5 separate regions of the Homo sapiens genome follow, and all the other regions are linked to region 5. Evidence: promoter capture Hi-C in 16 types of primary human blood cells and fetal thymus (Javierre and others, 2016). All regions are on one chromosome and are shown on one strand. The core of a region is centred on a gene start or on the middle of the fragment in contact, and the rest is flanking DNA. Distances in the headings are between cores, read along the strand shown.

Region 1 (2,700 bases), core at 84-2,583, 3.7 Mb after region 5:
ATACCAGATACTGTGAAGCAGTACAATTCAACATGTGAAACACTGACAGAAGTCAAATTTGTACTCCACCCCAAGAAACCTAAACCTTCCCTTATCTGATCAGTTATGTAACAGAATAATGGATCCTGGCATTTGCTTGAAAATACATAGTGTAGGTATGGGGAAAATGTAGGTTAAGAAAAACTATCATTTGGACGGTATTAAGCTCCAGAAAATCACCAGAATAGAAAAAGTAGAAAGCAAAATTGATGTATTTATTTTTGACTAAGTCACTAACTGCAAACAAACGAGGAGAGCAAATATTATTTAAATTATCCATCCCCACTCCACTGGTCAAAAATATAATTTTTCTTTACAGAATGTGGAGAAAAGGGGCTCCCCTGAAGTGTGTTAAAAGAGATGAGGACGGTCAGAAAAATCTGTCTGAAAAAAAAACGGAACTATCTTTAAATAATACTGCAAAATAGAAATATAAGCTACATCTTAATAAATAAATGTCTCTGGTTAATGGGAGGAAAGATGTGAGGCAGGCAGGATTACAAAGCAACGAGACAGCGGGAGGTAAGGGCACAGGATTTGGAGACTCATATATTATGTCAACACAGCCAGGAAATCAAAATCCTAGACCTAAACTGCACAATCAAAAGTAGGATGTAGACAACTATTGCGGAATCAAAAGTCCTAGCCATATGCTCACCAGCCTTTTGAAATGGGACAAGTGATACTATCAGTCTCATCTGTAAAATAAAAGTATAGTGTTTTCCCTGCCTACTTCATGTTTTGTTATGTTTACAAAATGGTACTATTCCGCTCTATGTTTAACTCACAAGCACGCAGAAGCGGAGCAGGCTGAAGATAGGATGCCTGTCACAGGAGCTCTGCCTCTTCCTACATCTTACCTGTCGCCTGCTGCTTCAGGAAAGGTACCTGGTAGGATCCAGGACCCACATGGGCCTCAGTGCTGCCACCTTCAGCCAATTTGAGCAGGCGGGGAGCCCGATCATACATAGTGCTCGGGGTGGTGGGGGCGCTGGGGAAGGGCAGGTGCCGAAAACGATAAAAACAAGGTAGCTAGAAGTGTGGAGAAAAAGGAAGCCGACACCAGTCTGAGGAGGCCGGGAAAGAACTTCCGTAAACAGGGAAATTAGGGGTGGGGTTGTCTCCCCGCCCGCTCATTGATACCAGATTTCCTCAAATCGATTTCTAGCTCTGTGGTAAAGTAGAGGGGTGAGCGACTAGAGATTAGACGTCCCACACAATCATCAGTTTGCCAGGTGCACGCCACCAAAATTGGGTATTAGGGATTAGACGCTCGCCCCGGTGCTTCCGGCCCTGACTCCGCCCACTTCTCTCCGCCCGGAAGCCTGGGGAGGAGGCGGGCCCAGTCTCTGGGGAGGAGGCGGGCCCAGTCTCTAGGGAGCGAAGTGGAGGTGCCTTCCTGGGCCGAGCCCTCGGAGCATGCGCACCGAGCAGCCACCCTTTCCCGGCTCTTTTTACCCGGAACCCGGCGCGCCTTGAAGAAGGCAGGCCTAAACCTCGTAGCTCTTGGGGTCCCGGTAACTACTTAGGTCCCGAACTTTTTTAAGTATGCAGAAGAACCTTAGAAAACGCGTTAGGAAGGGTGAGGACTAACTTGACCTTGATCTGCTTCCCGACTCAACAGAACCTAGTAAAGAAAAATGCAGTAGCATGAAGCAGAGAGCTTGGGGTTCCGCAAGCTCTCCCCCGCTTCTACTGCAGCCCCACTCGTACTCACAGAGAAAAGGCACCTCTGATCTTAACCTGTAGATAGTCCAAACTGCTAAGACAAACCCAGGGCTCAGGGCAGTGACAAGAAATGGAGAACCCAGAAAAAAAAATAACAAATAAGATAAGGGTAAAAAAGAAAAAAAAAAAAAAAGAAATGAGGACACCAGGCAAGGAGGCGAAAAGCTCACCAACTGAAGCCGTGGAAGTGACTGAAAGCTGCCTCTTTTGTCGTATGCCAGGTAACCACAATACTGATTCATCAATATTTAAAAAGCAAAGCGAAGGCACTGAAAAAGCCCAGTCCACCCCACCAAACCAATGATTCTGAACCTTGGGCAAAAGAAACCTTGCTTGTCCTTGGGGCTTAAGGAATCTATGTCAGAATCCACCTCTGCATCTCGCAGGCTGTTTTTTCTAGCAAGAATTCTGTCCAGATTATAAATATCCTCAGAGGCTTAGACAAATCCTACCTTGATCATACCTCACCTCCAAATGGTCTACAGTACGTTAATTTGTTCCTACTACAAGTTTTTATAGTTTTCATACTCTGTAATACACGATTTGCCACTCAATCCTGTGCAACATTTACTGTGGCTTCATTGTGCCATATAGGTCGGAACCCTCTCCTTGCGAGGCTATATGCTTCTCAAGGATGTATCTGTAGTACCTTTTTTTCTGTTCAATAGCTAGCTAAATTATTTATGCACTTAAAAAACACGAATTGGCATATACTGTAGGTTCCATCCCTGCTAAGTTATGAGGATACAAAGGCATAAGAAAGTCCCTGCCCTCAGGTGTTCTCTCTCTAATGGGGAAAGAGACGTATAATCCAAAACGAGAGGTGGCAAAGATTTTTTTTAATGGTAGGAAAATGAATATTGCAATATTTTGGAAACATCTCACCAACTTCGATTCTCCCTGCATTCTGTCAGAAACCCTCATAATTCTCTC
Region 2 (2,700 bases), core at 148-2,647, 4.2 Mb after region 5:
ATGGAATCATTCATCACATCCCATTTGGGCTTTAGATACTTTGAAGTGAGTATCTCAAATTTTCAAATCAAAGAACCCTGATTAAAACAAAAGGTCTTCTCACCTCAAATCCTTTATGAAATGAGGTCAACTTAAAATACTTTTTAGTTAGCTATGATATAAAATTAAACTATATTTTTGTTATAGTTAATGAATTAATATTGTATCTTCTGTTCCTTAGTCGAAAAGTGAGCAGTTAAATGGTCTATTTCTCTAACAAAACAATTAACTGATTCCTCAGGATTTACCGCCCACTGTGACCCTCTTGCCCTGTGCCCACACATACCTACTAAAGACCAGTTTTCAGATCCCCAGGAATAACATAAAATGGGGCATATCTGTCTCGTAAATATGATTGAATAAGCATATGTAGAGCACAGTTGTTTCACTTTTAAGAATCAATTATAATCATTTGTACAATAAAATGAATTATGTCTTTCACACAATATGACAGAGCAGTAATTGATTTTTTTTTTTAATTCGGCCATTCCATCTTCTTCTGGCACCTCAACTTCCTGCTGCTTTGGAGATAGCTAGACCTGTGTGGATCAAGGCATTAGGCCCTGATGTTACCTTACCAGGGGCCAAGCACATGACACAAGTTCAGCCAATTAGAAGCTTACTTCCTGATACTGAGCAGAGCAAAGAAAGAGACCAAAAGCCACCTGGAGTTCATTTCTTGCAGCCCCTGGACAAGCCTGAAGCTGCCCTTGAGACCTTTGGGAGCCTCCTGATTCTTCTGCCTTCCCTCTGGTCCCATAAGCTAGCTGTCAGGTTCTAACTGATGTCCGAGTTCCCATAAGCTAGCTGCCAGGTTCTAATTGAGATCCAACGGGAATCAGTGGATGAGTGGTGGGTAGCTGGAAAAACACTAAAGGAATCATAGACAGTTTTGACATGGCTTTACCCTCTCTTTGGGTGTGAGCAAGCCATATGTACAGCATTAGCAGGGTAATTATACCTTTTACAGACAGTAGTGGCTCCAAGCCCAGCACAAGCTCACATGGGTGATCACCTAATGTGCCTCACATGGCTTGGTTACATAATGTGCGGAGCTATGCGCCTGCGCTCCAAACCCATTGAGTTATGCTGTGCCGGAAGCCTGCCTCAGCCTACTCCTGACTAAAGCACAGCCATTTCCCTTACACTCCACCCCCTAGGCCTAGGGCATCCTCCAGGCAGGCACATGTGCCCATAGGGCAGAGCCCTGAATCCATAACCCACAACAACAATACAGAAAGCAACACCTCACTACTAGGATCCCAGCTATGCCACTTATGACTATTAGGGCCCAGTGTAGGCCAGAGCCTAGGGATGCCCACCATCTCCACAGGGGATCATCAGTAAGGCTCTCAACTGCGTTAATCTGCCATGAGACCCCTTGCAGGGCTGCTGTTATGTTCTACCGATTGTCAGGAATAAAGGTACAACATTGTGTTCCTAAAAGTGCACAGGTGCCTCCTTGGGCAGCAGTTTCTATGTCTAAGGCTATTTGATTTTGCAATACCACCTTTCTAATCTGATCAACCTCATTGGTTAACAGGAGGGGGGCCACTCAAGTGTAATTCAGAGCCCAAGTGGTGTGCTGTGCAAGAGTGGTAACTTGTGCTTCTACGGTTATGACACCCACTCCAGGGATAGTCACTGCCAAGAGGCAGAACCACCAGGGGACTCGTCGCACTTGCACAAACCGAGAACATAGCACCTCCCAGTTAAGTGAGCTATCTGGGCAACTTGGGGAGAACATTGGCAGGTAAGGCCACCCCCAGGTGCAATGTCCAGTCCAGTTCACTGGTAGCTAAGGCCACCCTGTGTCCCCACAGACCCATAAACTCCCAGGGGACACAAAATCCATTGGGGCCCAACCTTGGTGAGGCCGCTCGTTCCATCATACCTTCAGTGTGGTGACATGTATTATGTTTGCACAGGCCATGATGGGTACCCATCCCACAGGGGTGTTGCCCCAATGTGGCTCTATGTACCACAGTACCTGGGCTTGGGGTACTGCATGTTCCCCCGCTAGCCAGCCCCACCCATCATAAACACTACAGGCCAGCCAGGGGGCGGGTGTGCTGTGGGTCTTACAGCATCCTTTTTCAAAGCTTGCCATGTTGCCTCACAGACATCAGCCATGGGACCCCAGGTCTCCAGCCATGTCCAGTTCTCTGCAGATACTGAATGTATGTGCCAAGGCAAGCCATCTGCAGCTGCTGTTGGAAGGGCAGTGCAGATCCAACAGATGGAAACTTGGTCACCTCAGCGTAGGTGTGGGCCCAGTCCAAATGCAGTTAGAGCATGTTAACCTACAGTTGAAATGACAGAGCAGGTACAGGTACTAACAGAGGTAAATCATATCCCTCAGGCAAAATACAGGCTAATCTTTCATCCCTGGATAACAATGCAGCCACCAAGGGCTTTTGCTCTGGGTGATGGTACCACACCTCAACTCCCCATGGTTCCTTTGAGTCCTGTATCTGTGCCAAAGTCACAGGAGAGCTCATAATAGGCCAAACAGACAGTACACATGTCCCCCAGAGGAGAGTTCCTTCCCTGGCTGTTCCCGCTGTAGGGGCCATGTATTGAACACCCAAGGAGTGATATACGAGTCATACTGTAGGCCCTCCCCCCAGGGAGCTCCGATGGCCAACCACCAGCAGTGGG
Region 3 (2,700 bases), core at 58-2,557, 4.6 Mb after region 5:
TAAATCTCATAGTACAAAGAATCAGACACTGCATTAGAACCTTTTTCATTTCAATGTGCCATAAATTTCAACTCCACAAGTCAGATTCAGAATACTAACAATTAAGTTATGCAACATAGGAATCCAAAGAAACAAGAATACTAAATTTGATGGCCTGCTCCCCTTTAAAAAATGTCTTAATGGAGCCTAACCTTTTCCTTTTACTGACAATTCTAAGCAAAACAAAGCCCCACTCTAAATCCGCGGGAAATGGCCCTACTTCAACATTTGAACTATAGTAACAATTATAATCTTTCACCTTCTCTGAATAAAGACACTCAGTAATAAGGAAAAGCAACTACCAGTTTAAGTCTGAAAGACTGTTTAGAGTTTATTTCTTTCAAACTCCAATATGTTTAAGGCCATTTGTCTTACTAGAAAATGTCCAAAATTGCAAAACATTAAAATAATCAGCAACTTTAGACTGAGTATGTTATTCGTAATTTCTGCCTTTCTTTACTGTCTAATTTGTATTTTATGAATTTGTCATAGAGGAGCAGACCTGGGTCGGAATCCCAGCTCGCCATCGTTGGTGTGACCAAGCACAACCAACCTCAAACCTCAGTTTTTGGTAAGATGGGGATAACACCTCGCAGAGGTGTTTGTTACGTGAGGACTAGAGGGAATATAAATCTCTTGGTATTTAAGTGCTCGAAAATGTTTCTGAAAGGGACGTAGGGGTCTTTCCAAAATACACTCCTTGGAGGCACAATAATTAAGGCGTAGGCTCAATTATGCAACACAAGCAACCTAGGAGTTAGAAGCACGGGATCTGGCTGCAGCTCTGCCAAGTATGCAAGCTGCAAGAATGACCCAGAGCGAGTTACTTAATTTCGTGTAAGAAGCAATGCGTGGCCGCTCCTAAGCCATTTCCACTGGGATACCGACCTGACCAGCCCCTGCCCCCCACTCTCCGGCTCTCCCACCCCCCCACCCCGTTCCGACTGTCCCAGAAGCAGCAAAGAAAGCTGCTTCCCAACTGAAGAGCCGAGACAAAGCTTCCTTCTCTTTCTGCCCCTCTGAGCCGCTCGCTGGGGGCCCAGTTTCAGAACCAAGAGCCAGATCCCGTCTTGGGCGCCGAGCCTCGCGCGCCCCCGAGGATAGCAGCCTAGTCCCATGCCATGCACTCCCTCCCTTGGACTCAGGGCCCTCCGCTCAACGGGCCCTACCTCGTTCGCCATGTTCACGGATTCTGGTCGGCGCGGGGGGCTGACATCCGGGGTGGGCCGCGCAGCGACGGAGGCATGGGCGTGGCGAGCGCCTAGCGAGGGGGGCGGGGCGTGGGGGGGGCTTGCAATGGCTCCAACCGGAAGGGCGGTGCTCGAGCTGTGGTGCGTGCCGCTAAGTTGTGCGTTCCAGGGTGCACTCGCCGGCGAGGCTGCACGGCGCCGGTTTCATTGCTAAAATCCGACGGACTTGTTGCAGAACTCGTTTTTTTTGTCGGGAAAGGGCTTCCCCGTGTAACTTTACAGCAGTTATCGTAGATAAGACTTGCAAATTACAGATGTGGACGGTGAGGGAACGGGAATTTCACTGAAAGCGCCTGAGAACCAGTAAGAGACCTGCAACAGCTTTGTGCTCCACTGGCGAATGCTTCCTCCCCTAATACACATTATGTGTGCTTGGAGACACAAGGAGTAAGATACAGCCCCTCAAGGGACTCGTCATAGGGAGAGGACACAGCTTTGGGAATAAAGGGGCCACAAAGGAGGAGAGAGGAGTTTGCTGAAACTTCCCAAGCTCCCATTCCAGCAGTTCCTGAAGGGTAGGTAGGATTTTGGGGAGACAGTAGAACGTGGGCAGAGAACTTTGGAAGGAGGAGATGAGGAGAACAAAAAGTCTCCTGATCCTGGACAGTTTTTTGTGTTAAGAGTGGGCCAGAGTGTAGAGAGAGAGAATGTAGTATTTGTCGGTTTACTCTTTCTTTGTTTGTTTGAGACGGAGTCTCGCACTGTCGCCCAGGCTGGAGTGCAGTGGCGCGATCTCGGGTCACTGCAACCTCCGCCTCCTAGGTTCAAGTGATTCTCGTGCCTCAGCCTCCTGAGTAGTTGGGATCACAGGCACACGCCACCACGCTGGCTCAATTTTGTATTTTTAGTAGAGATTGGGAGTGGGGGCAGGGGGTTGGTCTCACCATGTATGCCAGTCTGGTCTTGAACTCCTAACCTCAAGTGATTCACCCACCTCAGCCTCCCAAAGTGCTGGGATTACGGGCATGAGCCACCGCACCTGGCCTGCCAGTTTACTCTTAAACTCTGTTGTAAACGCTGAATTTTGTTAAAATAGCTCTGTCAGACACACTGCTCTTTTCTGTCTTTCAGTCTTTTTCTTGGCTCTTTTCCGGGTACATATGGTAAGATTGTCCAAAGTCTTTCCGTCCTTTCACTCCACTCTCTCACTCACACTTTGGCTTTTAACGTCTATTTATGGAAAGATGACTACCAGATTATTATCTCCAATCAGGATGGCTCCCCTAAACTCCAGACTTGGACATGTAACTGCCTACTGGATTTCTGTCTCCATTAGGATATCTCACAATCGAATGCAACTCCTAAAACTCCTATTAATATTTTCTCCTTATAGGGACTCTTTCCTCTGTGTGTTGACACTCTCCACATACTTACCCTAGCCAGAAACATGAGAGTCACAACTTCTCCCTCT
Region 4 (2,700 bases), core at 125-2,624, 3.8 Mb after region 5:
GGGTCCCGAGCGCGGGCTGGGGTGGGGTCGGCCGCGGGCCGGACCGCCGCCCGGCTCCCCGGCACCTCGCAGCCTCGCCTCCCCTCCTCCATTCTTCCTGCCGGTGCCCGGGCACCACGGAGCCTGCCTCGCGGGCTCGCATCTGCAGCTCCATCCCCGTTTCTCCAGAGGCCGCCCGCTTCCTTTTCCCCCGCGTGTACTGAGCTCGAGGCTCGGGTCCGACCACTACCACTTCGTGTAACTTCCTTCTCTGTCAGTGCGACCTTTCCCCGTCGTGGAGACTCCTCATCCCGGGCGGGGAAGTGGAAGCAAGTAGTTTGTGAGGGAGATCTTACAACCTGCACGGAAATTATTTTCCAAGGGGGAGAGCGGACAGCCTCATAGGTTGAAAGGATGACTTGTCAGAGGCCACGAGGAACGTGAGGCAGGATAGAGCCGCTAGCTGTTGAATTAGTGCTGGGTGACTACAGTGTGCAATATTCCCGTGCCCAGCCTATTTTCTGGATTCCTTCGTCCGTCTTCTGTAGCAGGAAACTGCGCCCTGTAACGTTGTTACCGAACTTACATGGTAGTTATTCTTTCCCAGCTTCCTCCTGTCTAATCTGCATAATCTGATTTTAGTTCCTTTGTATTTATAGTTAATCTGAAGAGATTGGTTTGGATGAGAGATTTAAGAGCAAATATGTTTTATAAAACGATATATACATTTGACCTAATTTTTTTACATCATCTATTGCTTAACTGTTACATTCAGTAATCACAGAAACGTCTGATGAATGCTGTCATGTAATTAAGAGCTCAAAGTTTCTTTTAATAGTAGCGACTTGTACTAAGTTCCCCAGTTTGCTTCCACTCCTGTCTGTCATAATTTCCTCTTTTTAAAATTTGCTCCCTTGGCATCTGTCAGCTGGGACTTTTCCCACCCCTTCTGTGCGAGTTATTTAAAGCTTGAGATGAATGTGGTCCTTTCATCTGTTAATACAGTGCTCAACACGTTCAGAGTTAGGTGGTGCAACTCAGAATCTTCAAGAAGTATCTAAACCTGGGAATGGTGTCCATAGAGTTTTCTGGAACAGCAAATGCTTCAGGCTTTGATCCCGACCTTTGGCCATATATCTGGAAGAGGCCAGGGTTGACGGAGGAGGTGGTATGAATCAAAAAAGGTCTAGGGCTCTGAATTTTATTTTCAGTTGTTTTTTCTTTTTAACGTGAGTACTCGATATGCTGAACAAATTTCTGTAAAAATTGGGTGGCCCATTTATGCGTGTCTGCCTTTCTCTTAAAGTAGATTTTTAAATAGGTATTATATCAGATTATTGGACAAGCTGTATATTTCCGTCGAACATACACACGTTTATGTGTGTTCCCTTTGAACATACACAGATAAAATACACTTTGAAATAAAATTCCTTTGAACATACATACACAGATAAGTGTGTGTATGTTCAAAGGAAATATACAGTATGTCCAATAACCCTATCTGATATTGGACTGTAAGTTCAAGTTTGGCTTGCAAAATATATTTTCCCATGTTTCCAGGTGAGCCTTAAACAATCCATTTAACATTTTAGCTTACATGTTAAATCCGTACTTTTTCAGTGGAAAAAATCCAATTCCGTTACAACACTGGTGAATAAAAATACCTAAAAGAAATTATCTACTTAAAAATAATCTTCAAAATCTTGAGTGCTATTGCTTGATTTTTAAAAAGGGCCAAATAGAAACCTATCTCTCATTTTGAAGCCATCTCTGATACTCTTTGGTTAATCTGTCTCTTCATAAGCACTGTTTGTACCTTGTTAGAAGCTTTTTAGCACTTACGTAATCTACCATATAATAAAGTTGTTTATGTGTGTGCTGTGCATTTAATCATGAGTCCCAGAAGATGAAAAGTGTCTTATTATTTTTTGTGTTCCCCACAGTGCTTTTCAAATAGAAATTCAGTAAATCTTTGGCAAATTGTTGAACTTAAAGCCACCTATTATTTTCAACTTTTGAACCTGAAGATATAGTCTTCATCTGAACAAACATTTGGGTTGGTACATATTATCTAGTTGGGGGATAAGCAGAAACAGAAAGGTATAATTGTACCATGCCTCCCAGTACACTGTAGGTTGGTTTTGAGTCAACCTCAGGCAATCTGTTTCCTTCTAAACTCTCTTCAATGGTAAGGCAGTTTCATGTATGATCAGTAGGTACATATGATAATTTAAAATTGAAACCTTGGGGAACAGTTTTATATCTGGGCCAAGGAAGTTAGTATAACAATTCATGTACACATAAGAAGGTAGAAGGTATACTGGTTAATGATGAGGGGAGGGAGAAGTGCTTTTTAATTTGTCTCAAGAAATAAATAAGGTTGATTTTTAAAGATAGTCTCAGCCGGGCGCGCACTTTGGGAGGCCGAGGCGGGCGGATCACCTGAGGTCAGGAGTTGGAGACCAGCCTGACTAACATGGTAAAACCCTGTCTCTACTAAAAATACAAAAAAACAATTAGCCGGGTGTGGTGGCGGGCGCCTGTAATCCCAGCTGTTTGGGAGGCTGAGGCAGGAGAATCACTTGAACCCGGGAGGCGGAGTTTGCAGTGAGCCGAGATCATGCCATTGCACTCCAGCCTGGGCAACAAGAGGGAAACTCTGTCTCAAAAAAAATATATATATATATTCTCATGGCAATAATTTCCTACACAAGAGAGTGA
Region 5 (2,700 bases), core at 41-2,540:
GCGCGGTGGCTCATGCCCGTAATCCCAGCACTTTGCGGGGCCGAGGCGGGTTGGTCACCTGAGGTCAGGAGTTCGAGATCAGGCTGGCCAACATGGTGAAACCCCATCTCTACTAAAAATACAAAAAATTAGCCGGGCGTGGTGGCGCACGCCTGTAATCCCAGCTACTCAGGAGGCTGAGGCAGGGGAATCGCTTGAACCCGGGAGGTGGAGGTTGCAGTGAGCCGAGATTGCACCACTGATCCCAGCCTGGGAGACAGAGCAAGAATCCGTCTCAAAGAAAAAAAAAGTAAAGAAATGTTATCCTGCTTCAGTTTTAAATGTTAAATTATTTAAAATTACGTAAAACAAAAAATTCATGGTCTCAGTTACAGTAGCCACATTTCAACTGTTCGATAGCCACATGTGGCCAGTGGCTACCGTTAGGGAAAGAGCAGCTTTGGATCTTCGCCTTTGGAATTTTGCTTGCACTTCTGGGGGCCGGGGAGCTCACGGACCTCATGAAGTTCATCCTTGCTTTATATGCTCCTTGGTTAAGAATTGTCCTTTTCACGTTTTATAAGCCAATTCACAGTGTAACAGTCTAGTTACTTTCCGTATGTTCAGTGAACATTATTCACGTTTTCTTATGAATAAATTCCTCGGGCGTATCAAGCAACCCTATAGAAGGCTGGAAAGTGGACTATTGATTTGGATTTAGAAAAATAAACTGAAGATACAGTGGTTGAATCACTTTTGGCCGCTTTTATGTATCACTGTCTTCTGGTGTGATGGACAGGGTTAACTTCTGTTAGGGTTACTGGTTTTCACCTTCCTGACAGGTAAACTTCTGGGTCTGCACTTTTCAGAGCATGTAAAGCTCTTTCAAAAAAAAAAACGCAGGCAGTAACCGCTGAACTTGCATAGATAGAGATTTATCCAAAGTACCCTTCTATTTTTAGGCAGAGCAACTGCTTGCCAATTTAAATTTCTGGAGAGAAAAATGCACCCACTACAAAACGGACGAGCGGAGGGTTAGACCTTTGCCAGGTAGCGCTCAAAATCCGCTAAGACTACTCCCACCGAAACTCGGTAGCGCAGTTGTCTTTCCGCAGCTGCTTCAGCCAGCCCCAGCAAGCCCGAGCGCCCGGCGCCGCCGCCACCTTCCCCGCCCCTGCGCGGCGCGGCTGGGACTGGCCCAGAGGCGTGGCCGGGAGCGGAGGGGCGTGTCCTGGGTCGGGGGTGGGGCGAGGGAGAGCCAGGAGGCGGAAGTTCCCGCGGGCGGTGGGGACGGCGCCCTCACCGCGAGTCACTTGTCAGCCCTTGTCTGAGGCGGAGGCAGCCCCGCGCCGCGCCGGACCCGAGGTGAGTGGCGGCCGGCCGGCGATGCGCCTCTCGGATCTCCGGTGGGAGAAGGGAAAGAACCGGCCGCTGTGCGCCGAACGCGAGAAGGGAAGCCCGGTTGGGGACGAGGAGGGGGCGCTCCTCGGGCAGGGATGGCTCCTCAGGTGCTTTCTGGGCGCGGAGCGGCGGAGGTGGGAGAGCAGCTTGGGAAAAGGAGCGCCCGGAAAAGGGCAGCGCTGGAGTCCGCATGAGGCCAGAGGGCGAGCCCTGGGGTCCCCGCAGCCCGGGCCGACCGGGACCAGCGTAGCGGAGACGGGGACGCGGGAGGGCGCCCGGAGGTGGCGAGGGCCGGCAGGGACGGGCACTGCCGCTCCCACCCACCCGGCTGCCGGCGTCGCCCGGCACCACCGTGGTGTGGTGTCTGAGTGCCCAGTCCTGCGCCAGTCTCTTGGAGGGTAGGAAGCGGGACTCAAAGGAAAAGGCGCGTTAGTTTTTCTTTGCTCCCAGGCTACTGAGAAGCATTTATTTCTCCCCCAGATATTTACAGTTTTGTGTAACCTGTTTGGGGAAAACTTCTGCGCGTCCAGAAATAAAGCTCGTTTAAGAAACACATTTGTCATGAACACGAGATTTGTTAACACTTGAGTACTTGTTGGGGCTTTTGTAAGACTGTGCCTTCGGTGCGTTTTACAATAAGTGGAAAAAGGAAGGGCGTGTGGACAGGGCAGAGCTTGGAAGGAAAATTCGTGGCGGCGCTGGGCAGGGCAGATTTAGGGTGTGATCGCCAGATCCTATCCCAAGTCCGCCTTCCTGACGGGGAGGACGTCTGAACCCGCCTGCCACGGAAACGGCCCGTTCGGTAGCCTTATTTGGCCAACAAGGCTAGGCGCGAATCCCTCCTGGAAAACTGTCCTGTCGGCTGCTTTCATCCTGTGCCTGTGGCTTTAGTTCTTCAGCTCTACCTACATTCTCTCTCCATTGCGGGGAAAGAGAATCTCAAGATATTTCTCTTTAATTTCAGGCCTTTTTTTTTGTCACTCTGTGTAGTTCATCTTGAGTTCTCCTTTCTCCCCTCTCACCCACTAATGAAGCTGAGATACAAGTGTGGGAAATACCAAGCTTCCTTCCCTAGTACTAGAGCAAAGACATTGTTTAGACTTTCCCTAAAAGAAAATCCATAACTCTACAGAAATTCCAACCTTTTCGACGTGTTTGAAAGAGTATGCTGCTATTTCCTGCCTGCTTGGTATTTGAGGAAGGGCTTGGGCACTAATAACCAGATGGAGGAGTCTTGGAAAGGCCAATAAAAATATTGCCATTGCTTGGGGCAGAGACTGTTTTAAGGCAGATGAATTCCAAATGAAGCTAGCAGAAGAA

What was found. Contacts are between HindIII fragments. The CHiCAGO score rates a contact against its expected background, and 5 or more counts as called.
Region 1: a contact is called between the fragment with the promoter of STPG2 here and the fragment with the promoter of PDLIM5 in region 5, in 5 of 17 cell types (fetal thymus, non-activated CD4 T cells, activated CD4 T cells and 2 more). The highest score is 9.7, in fetal thymus.
Region 2: a contact is called between a fragment that was not itself captured here and the fragment with the promoter of PDLIM5 in region 5, in 1 of 17 cell types (non-activated CD4 T cells). The highest score is 6.5, in non-activated CD4 T cells.
Region 3: the fragment with the promoter of ADH5 here is called in contact with the fragment with the promoter of PDLIM5 in region 5 in 3 of 17 cell types (non-activated CD4 T cells, M0 macrophages and activated CD4 T cells); the score reaches 10.3 in non-activated CD4 T cells.
Region 4: a fragment that was not itself captured here is called in contact with the fragment with the promoter of PDLIM5 in region 5 in 3 of 17 cell types (naive CD8 T cells, non-activated CD4 T cells and activated CD4 T cells); the score reaches 8.7 in naive CD8 T cells.

What each region holds. Positions count from the first base shown.
Region 1 is chr4:98,142,143-98,144,842 of GRCh38, forward strand. It overlaps STPG2 (sperm tail PG-rich repeat containing 2), which reads right to left and starts at 1,334. Exons shown (of 11, transcript NM_174952.3): 1 at 900-1,334. The coding sequence starts at 1,008. RefSeq lists an enhancer at 1,061-1,160. The HindIII fragment of the contact is 14,460 bases long and covers 1-2,700 here.
Region 2 is chr4:98,664,066-98,666,765 of GRCh38, forward strand. It overlaps TSPAN5-DT (TSPAN5 divergent transcript), which reads left to right. Exons shown (of 3, transcript NR_148380.1): 3 at 1-486. All of the region lies in intron 1 of LOC112267901 (a long non-coding RNA gene), which reads left to right. Among named protein-coding and RNA genes, the nearest start is that of TSPAN5-DT, 6.5 kb to the left of the region's middle. The HindIII fragment of the contact is 1,484 bases long and covers 656-2,139 here.
Region 3 is chr4:99,087,481-99,090,180 of GRCh38, forward strand. It overlaps ADH5 (alcohol dehydrogenase 5 (class III), chi polypeptide), which reads right to left and starts at 1,308. Exons shown (of 9, transcript NM_000671.4): 1 at 1,209-1,308. The coding sequence starts at 1,220. LOC100507053 (a long non-coding RNA gene) reads left to right here and starts at 1,377. Exons shown (of 10, transcript NR_037884.1): 1 at 1,377-1,804. RefSeq lists a promoter at 1,253-2,506 and a silencer at 1,291-1,340. The HindIII fragment of the contact is 7,789 bases long and covers 1,036-2,700 here.
Region 4 is chr4:98,261,752-98,264,451 of GRCh38, forward strand. All of the region lies in intron 1 of RAP1GDS1 (Rap1 GTPase-GDP dissociation stimulator 1), which reads left to right. Among named protein-coding and RNA genes, the nearest start is that of RAP1GDS1, 1.7 kb to the left of the region's middle. The HindIII fragment of the contact is 859 bases long and covers 946-1,804 here.
Region 5 is chr4:94,450,652-94,453,351 of GRCh38, forward strand. PDLIM5 (PDZ and LIM domain 5) reads left to right here and starts at 1,291. Exons shown (of 13, transcript NM_006457.5): 1 at 1,291-1,344. RefSeq lists silencers at 941-1,360, 1,531-1,790. The HindIII fragment of the contact is 3,776 bases long and covers 1-2,440 here.